2 separate regions of the Homo sapiens genome follow, and region 1 is linked to region 2. The links are contacts of gene promoters, found by promoter capture Hi-C in blood cells and fetal thymus (Javierre and others, 2016). All regions are on one chromosome and are shown on one strand. Each heading gives the region's core, a stretch centred on a gene start or on the middle of the fragment in contact. The rest is flanking DNA. Distances are from core to core; before and after follow the strand shown.

Region 1 (4,106 bases), core at 1,233-3,732, 120 kb before region 2:
CCTGTGGTCCCAACTATTCGGGAGGCTGAGATGAGAGAATCTCTTGAACCCGGCAGGCGGAGGCTGCAGTGAGCTGAAAAAAAAAATTTTCTATATGTTTTTCTCTTCTTTGTTTCTTTCTTTCTTTTTTTTTTAACTCTCTCTCTCTGTTGCCCAGGCTGGAGTGCAATGTGTGATCTCGGCACACTGTGACCTCCATCTCCCAGGTTCAAATGATTCTCCTGCCTCAGCCTCCCCAGTAGCTGGGACTACAGGTGCATGCCACCACACCAGGCTAATTTTTATATTTTTAGTAGAGATGGGTTTTCATCATGTTGGTCAGGCTGGTCTCAAACTTCTGATCTTGTGATCCACCTGCCTTGGCCTCCCAAAGTGCTGGGATTACAGGCATGAGCCACCATGCCCAGCCTAAATGTTTTTCACCAAATTGTTTTATAAATGTTTGGCACTAAACTGACCATGAAAAGGACACTTGTTTGAGAGCATGAGAGCAGAAACAGGAAGGCAAAGTGTCTCCTTGTTGGATCTCAGCTGGGGATGGGTGCATTGGGTGACTCAAATCTTTTGCAGCTCTGCATGTGTCTGCAAATGACCTTGAGGTTTAAGTGATGATTTTGGAGTTATAAATACATTTTAGGGATTAGACAAATTCACACATACAGAACCTGCAAATAATGAGGATAGACTGTGCCCACATACACGCACGTTCAAATTATATGAAATGCTGTGGAGGAAAATAGCAGCATATTTTCAAAGACAAGAGAGAACCCCTTCCTTAGGTGGCACGGTCAGGGAGGCCACAAAAACGGTGGCATTTCAAGTCAAGGCTTAAGGGATAGAGAGGAACCAGGAGCACAGGGGAGAGGTTTACCAGCAGAAGGGGCAGCTCGTACAGTCCCAGTGGGAGGAAGGACAGCTGCACTTGCGAGGTGAAGTGGGAGTGTGAAGAACAAGACGGGAGAACAAGTATGGAATGCAAGAGGCAAGTCAGGCAAGGGCCTGAGTGGGTCAGGGAGAGCCTGGGAAGATCCTGGGTTTGGATTCCTTTCAAGGTGCAACGGGAAGCTTTGGCGTGTGTTGGGCAGGAGAGTGAAATGTCCTAGGTAGAGTTAAGGTTTTCTCTAGCTGCCCCATGGATTTGCCAGGGCAGGGTCTGTTTCCCTCAGCTGGCTCATCTGAGAAATAAATGTGTGATACTCTCAAATCCTTCTTTGGATTTAGAGAGAGGTATAAGTAAATGCCAAGTCCCATGTTACGGTGTGGTAATACTTGTTTGGTCCACTCATAATGGCATTTATTTTTTAAATCAGATCTACTGGGACTATAATGCTTCAAACCACGGGAGTAAGCCTTGCATGTGACCACTTCAGCTTCCACAGCAGGAAAAGGGAGGGAGATATTTTTAGAAGGGAGACCTCTCAGTGCCCCCTAAACCAGGCCGGAGGCACTGCCTGGCCCCAGAGGACCGTTGGCCTTGCCTATCAGCTTTCATCGTGGAGGAGGCGTGGGTGGACCGAGGTACCACAAGTTGCCAGGAATGCCTGACCAGAAACTGCTCTTGGGTGGGTCCCAGAGCTGCCTCCCCTTCACTTGACCCTAGGGCTGCTGGCTTCCTGGCCTTGTGAAATCTTCTAGAGGCAGGAAGAAGCCTGAGCGCTCCCTGACGCCACTTGAGTTTGACTTCATGGGTTTGCCGTGTGCCCCTGAACAAACCAGTTATCCTCTCTATGCCTTATTTCGGTATGCCCATCTAACACTAATTACCACCCCTCCCTGACTGCCCCCAAACCTTACCAGAAGAAATGGCATGAAGTTACGGAGACACTTTGAACTCATTGGCAAATTGTGCACTGTGAGGGGAAAGCACTGTGGCGGCCATTTTCTTTTCTTCCTTGAGAAAGTCCCTTGCTAATCATTAAGACTGGCTGAGTAAGCTTGTTCCTTTACATTTGGTGAGTAAGAAAGCCCCTCATGCTACCTCATCATATGTTCTTCCTCTTTTTCATGGCTTATCAACACTCCCTTCTGTAGGACATGCTGAGGAATTAGTATGAGTCAAAAGGAAGAATGACAAATAGGTGGTATTTCTGGTCTGGAGTTTGGAGGGCAAGTTCAGTCCAAAAGTTAGCTGCTTCAACCATCATGAAAGGTACAGAAACTCTAGGATGAATACACTTAGTATTTTTTATTATTTATTTATTTATTTTTTAGACGGAGTCTCACTCTGTCTGTCCCCCAGGCTGGAGTGCAGTAGTGCAATCTCGGCTCACTGCAACCCCCACCTCCCGGGTTGAAGCAATTCTCCTGCTTCAGCCTCTCAAGTAGCTGAGATTACAGTACACTTTGTACTTTAATATGCAAACTGCCTGCCTGCTCCAGAGAAGCAGCCTTTGTTCCTCAGTTCATCGCAACACTCAGCCTGTCAGTCAGGTTGTGGGATCCCTCCTATCCAGGAACTGTATGCTGTTGTCCCGGTTCTGACACTTTCCCTCTGAGTCCTTGGACACCTTACCTAACCTCTTGGAAGCTCCTGTCTGTGAAGGGTGTGCACAGAGAGCTTCGGTAGCCTGCGAAGCAGCCATTTTCACTTCCACGGAGCAGGTATTTTATTGCATTATTTCGAGCTCAAGGACTCCAGAATTAGATCCCCAAAATATGCCTGAGAAACATTTACTCCCCAGGAGCTCAAACTAAATAATGAAAACCATTGAAAACAACCAGGCAGCCCATGTCCTGAAGTCACCTTTTCCTGGGAGGTCCAGGAGAGTTTTTCCTACTTTCCCTGAGTTATCCTTCCCTTTCCTTCCCTTCCCTTTCTTCCCCAGAGGGCGATGCATGTTAATCAAGGAGCCTGCATTTGCGCAGGTATAGACAATTACACATTTACTGGGTCAGTTGCACCTGGGGGGGACGCCAATCTGTAAAGCAGAACCAAACCTCTTGCCTTCAGTCCTCAGAAGTTCTTCTGGTTAAAATCATCTAAAAAGTTGTTTCAAGTCTCCAGAACAGCTGAGATCAGCAAAAATAAATGAAGCTTCTTCTGTGTGGGTGCAGATGCTGGCCTGGGTGCTGGAATATGGAAATGAGGAAGATCCTGCCTGAGGATTTCATGACAGGTGAGGGGGAGAGAGGCCTGAGGAAGTTACCACCGGGGAAGGTGACAAGTGCAGTGATAGGATAAATACGAAGTGCAAAGAGAAGACAGACAAGAAGTTCAGCTAGCTAAGAAATGTGTTAATAACACCTTGATCAATCATTCCTCCACTTTTTTTTTCTTTTGAGAGTCTCATTCTGTCACCCCACCCAGAGTGCAGTGGCAGGAACACAACTCATTGCTACTTCAACTTTCTGGGCTCAAGCGATCCTCCTGCCTCAGCCTCCTGTGTAGCTGGGGCCACGTGTATTGCACCACCAAGCCTGGCTTATTTTTTAATTTCTTTTGTAAAGACAGGGTCTCACTATGTTGCCCAGACTGGTTTCAAACTCTTGGACTTAAGCAATCCTCTCATCTTTGCCTCCCAAAGTGCTGCGATTACCGACGTGAGCCACTGTGCCCAGCCTCACTTTAAAAAAAAAAAAAGGTTATGAAGCATCTCAACACAAGACCTCCTTTGCTCATCACAACCACCCAGTGAAGCAGGCAAGACAACAGAAACTCCCCACCTGTGATAGATGTGAGGCCTGAAGTCTCCCACATACCCACGGCAGATGCAACGCACAGCGGTGACCAATGGTAGGGATAACAAGTATTGCTTCCGCCCATTCAGTACTTCTTGCATGCCAGATCTGTGCTAAGTGCTAGATGAACACAGTCTCTTTTCATTCTCATAGCTCTTTAAAACAGGTATTGTTTTCTTTTAAAACAAATTGTTTTGTTAAATATAAATATCATGTACCTTATATATATATTATATATAAAAATACATGTAATTTACCATTTTAACCATTTCAAAATGTCCAGTTCAGGAGCATTAAGTACAGTCACATTGTTGTGCTACTGTCACTACACCATCCACAGAATTCTTCCTCTTTCCAAACTGAAATTCTACGCACTTTAAACAATAACGCCCTATTCCCCCCTCCCTCCAGTCTCTGGCACCCACCAT
Region 2 (3,979 bases), core at 336-2,835:
GGCAGAGAACATTCAGTGATAAGAGGAGAGGATGATCTTGAGGGACTGACTTGGAAAAGAGACTAACAGGACTGACTAGAGATGTTGGAAGAAAAGGAGGAGAATGTGATGTCACCTCAAAAGAGTGTTTCTAGAAGACGAGTCCGTAGCCATATCAAACCTCCTGAAAAAGGACCCGAGAACTAAAAATACCAGTTGCACTAACTAACATCATGGAGGTCATTGGTGATGCTAGTGATTTTTTTGTTGTTGTTGTTGCAGGAGAAATGTTAAGGTTAGTGGAAAATTGATGAAATGGAAACATTGTGAGTAAAAAGAGAAAAGAAAAGCTGAGGGACTATTTGGGGATGGGGGTGGAGGGATGGAGAGTTTAGTTGGTAGTGCGAAGTTTCCAAGAAGATAGGTAGGAAAGTGAGTACCAGTAAAGGGCTTATTAAAATACCAAAGAGCCCAGCACTTTGGGAGGCTGAGGCGGGCAGATCATGAGGTCAAGAGATCAAGACCATCCTGGCCAACATGGTGAAACCCAGTCTCTACTAAAAATGCAAAAATTAGCTGGGCATGGTGGCGCACACCTGTAGTCCTAGCTACTTGGGAGGCTGAGGCAGGAGAATTGCTTGAACCCGGGAGGCAGAGGTTGCAGTGAGCCGAAATCCTGCCATTGCACTCCAGACTGGTGACACAGTGAAACTCCATCACAAAAAAAAAAAAAAAAAAAAAAAAGGTCACAGAGGGACTCTGTATTGTAACAGGAGGGAAGAAAGAAAACGGCAGGGTGCAGACTTGAGTAGATTTCTGTTTGGTAGAGGTGAGATGAAGGGATTGGCTTCTATTTTCTCTGTAATGAAAGAGGAGGGATTAACTACTTTTCTAGGTGTTAATAAGGGTGCCTTGTAAACGAATTGTTTTATATGTGAATGGATGCCTTAGCTTTCTAACTTTCACAGGTAAGTAAATATATATCCATGTTCATAGCGGTGGGAACAGAAACAATAGGTGTTTAAAAATACTAGATTGAGGCCGGGCGCGGTGGCTCACGCCTGTAATCCCAGCACTTTGGGAGGCCGAGGTGGGCGGATCACGAGGTCAGGAGATCGAGACCATCCTGGCTAACCCGGTGAAACCCCGTCTCTACGAAAAATATAAAAATTAGCCGGGCATGGTGGCAGGCACCTGTAGTCCCAGCTACTCGAGAGGCTGAGACAGGAGGATGGCGTGAACCCAGGAGGCGGAGCTTGCAGTGAGCCGAGATCGCGCCACTGCACTCCAGCCTAGGCAACAGCGAGACTCCGTCTCAAAAAAGAAAAATACTAGATTGATTTTGATTCTAATAGTGATGATAATTAATCTGATGATATTCTGATGGCAAGGAAAAGTATAAGCTCCAATCAGGCCCCTGTCGTAAGCCGCCTGACAAGTGAGAGAAATGAGGTTCACAGTTGGCTGGTCACAGCACAGGGAAAGGAAATCCACCCCCACGCTCCTTCTGGTCCAGGACCCTAAGGGTTAAGATCAACGAGAGTGGGCCATCACTGTTTCCTAGAACGGCCCCAGCAAAGCCGCCGGGGGAGATGAGGGTAACTTCCTGTTTCTGCCTTCCGGGTTTGAGAGTTTAGGACCCTGGGTTGGTGGGGTCAGAGGGAGAGGGGGTACCTTCCTCCCGGACCGCTGGGGGTGCAGGGCGCCTTGGGTGTAGCACCCAGAACAGTGAGTTCCTTCTTGGGGGGAAGGGAGCCGAGGGTTGCGGGCTAGAGGAGTGGAAACAGCCCCGTCCAGGCTGCAGTGGACGTCCGGGAGAGAGTTCCCGCTGCTGCCAGGGGCGAAGGCCCAGCATCTCCCGCCGACGGGCCACCGTCATCCTTGTCCGCGGGGTCCCTTACGGGATCTTGTCGGCCGGAGACCGTCTGGTATCCTGGAACTTCACCCCCCAGCGTCTCCAACTTGTACCAGCCAGCGGTTCTTAAAACTAGGCTTCAGGCAGTGCATTTTCTTTGAAGGCTTTCTGATCAAAGCACGGCCCCACTCTGATCACATTGTTGCTCTAGAACAGTGAAAACACTCCTTCCCCGTGGAGAGACATCTTAATGGCAGCCTTGTATGGTCTTGCATTTGCCACCATTTTGCTGAGCCACTGTTCCGGGGGCTCCTTTGCTGCCAAATTTAATAGTATTTTAGTAGGGAAAATGGGGGAGATGGTAATGTGTTGCCCAGACTCTTGCTGCTTTTGTAAATACTTTGATAACAATATGTAACTTAGGACAGCAAAATATATAACTCCATTCGAACAACTCCACCCCCTTCCTTTTTTTGCATTCAGGTGTATGGTTTTTTCTCCCCCCCAACTCAAACACTGGGGATATTAGTAATGTAGACTAGTTTCACGTTTCTCTAGAACAAATCCCCACTTGCTGAGTGTGCTTAGGGAATGTCGACTCACTTTGTTAACAAGGTTTAGGAATGTAGACCTCTGTTTTAAAATGCCAGTATTCTAAATATTCTAAAATAAAGGGACTCTGAGGATTCTTTGCAGTTTGGGATTATGCCCAGCTCTGCTTCCTGTTCTAGTTTACGATAATAGATCAGAGGGTGAAAAAGGTCAGCATCCAAACAGACTTGGAGCTCAGTCCTGCTCTACCACTTTCTAGGTGACCTTAGGAAAGTTTCTTAATACCTTTCAAACTCATCCTATAAAATGCTGGTAGTTGTTCATACACTTCAGAGGGCTACTGTAAGAATTAAATGACAAATGTGTGCAAATTATTTCATTCACTACCTGGCACATAATAGGCAGTAATGGTGAAGATACAATATAAGTACATATACTATTTTTTGTTTTTAAAATGTGTGCATTTGTATATCCTTTTACGTCCTTATTTTTCTCCCAAATAATGATACTCTTTATATTCTGAAATGGATGCCAAAAGTCCATATGTCACTGCCTTCCTGTGATAGATCACATTTTCTTCTTTTTCTTTTTCTTTTTTCTTTTTTTTTGTTGAGACAGAGTCTTGCTCTGTCACCCAGGCTGGAGTGGTGCAATGGCACGATCTCGGCTCACTGCAACCTCTGCCTCCTGGGTTCAAGCGATTCTCCTGCCTCAGCCCCCTGAGTAGCTGGGACCACAGGCGCCCGCCACCACACCCGGCTAATTTTTTGTATTTTTAGTAGAGATGGGGTTTCACCGCATTAGCCAGGATGGAACATTTTCTAGTCCCTTAAAATAGGTTAGTGATTGTTGGCTCCAGAAGACGAAGTTTAGGCTGAAATGGATATTGTGAATATGATAGACTTAGGAACTAAGTGCAAGGAGGAAGAGGTCCCTCTTTAGCCTCCTTTTTATATTGCAGGGTTATTGGCTATAATTATTCCACCTCGGCTTTGTCCTAATTTCTCTTTACTGGTTATATAAATCCTAACTTTCCTTTGAAATTGACTTCAAAGGTTTCCTTCTGTCAAGACCAAGTTATTCTTTTGAAACTAAACAGGGTGCTTTTTTTCTTTAGCTGCTGCTTATGCCTTCATATTGATTCCTTGAAGTCTTTATAAGTTTTATTATTGGTGTCTTAAAAAAAATACTTTGCTTTTTAAAGTAAAAGTGTTTCTAAGCTACGTGTGGACAATGAGGATTAGTATTCTGTCTTTGAAGCTTGATCCTCAGACCTTTAATGTGAAGATTTACTTTTTTGCATTGTTATTTCAGGGTTAACCCTTAATTCTAAACACTTAGATCTGAGATAAGATTTTCTAAAAGGGCTGCTAAAAGTTGTGTTTCTTATTTTCGGTATGGTTCATGGAACATTCTATGCCTCCTATTGTTGTGTTGGAATGGTTGGGAAGGAAGGAGGAAGAATAAGCTTTAACAAATACCTCCAAACATAATTTATTTCCTTCCACAGGGTTTCTGATCTCTAACTTGGCTGTGATCATTGTGATGGAGCAAGAAAAAAAACTGTTGGTCTCAGATTCTAACAGCTTTATG

The links. The method cuts DNA at HindIII sites, captures the fragments that hold promoters and counts their contacts. A CHiCAGO score of 5 or more calls a contact.
Region 1: a fragment that was not itself captured here is called in contact with the fragment with the promoter of ZNF572 in region 2 in 1 of 17 cell types (M1 macrophages); the score reaches 6.8 in M1 macrophages.

What each region holds. Positions count from the first base shown.
Region 1 is chr8:124,846,221-124,850,326 of GRCh38, forward strand. All of the region lies in intron 1 of LOC105375743 (a long non-coding RNA gene), which reads right to left. Among named protein-coding and RNA genes, the nearest start is that of MIR4662B, 26 kb to the left of the region's middle. RefSeq lists enhancers at 1,543-2,742, 1,887-2,181 and a silencer at 1,887-2,181. The HindIII fragment of the contact is 1,100 bases long and covers 1,933-3,032 here.
Region 2 is chr8:124,971,710-124,975,688 of GRCh38, forward strand. It overlaps ZNF572 (zinc finger protein 572), which reads left to right and starts at 1,586. Exons shown (of 3, transcript NM_152412.3): 1 at 1,586-1,707; 2 at 3,897-3,979. The coding sequence starts at 3,932. RefSeq lists an enhancer at 1,529-1,688. The HindIII fragment of the contact is 4,233 bases long and covers 1-3,644 here.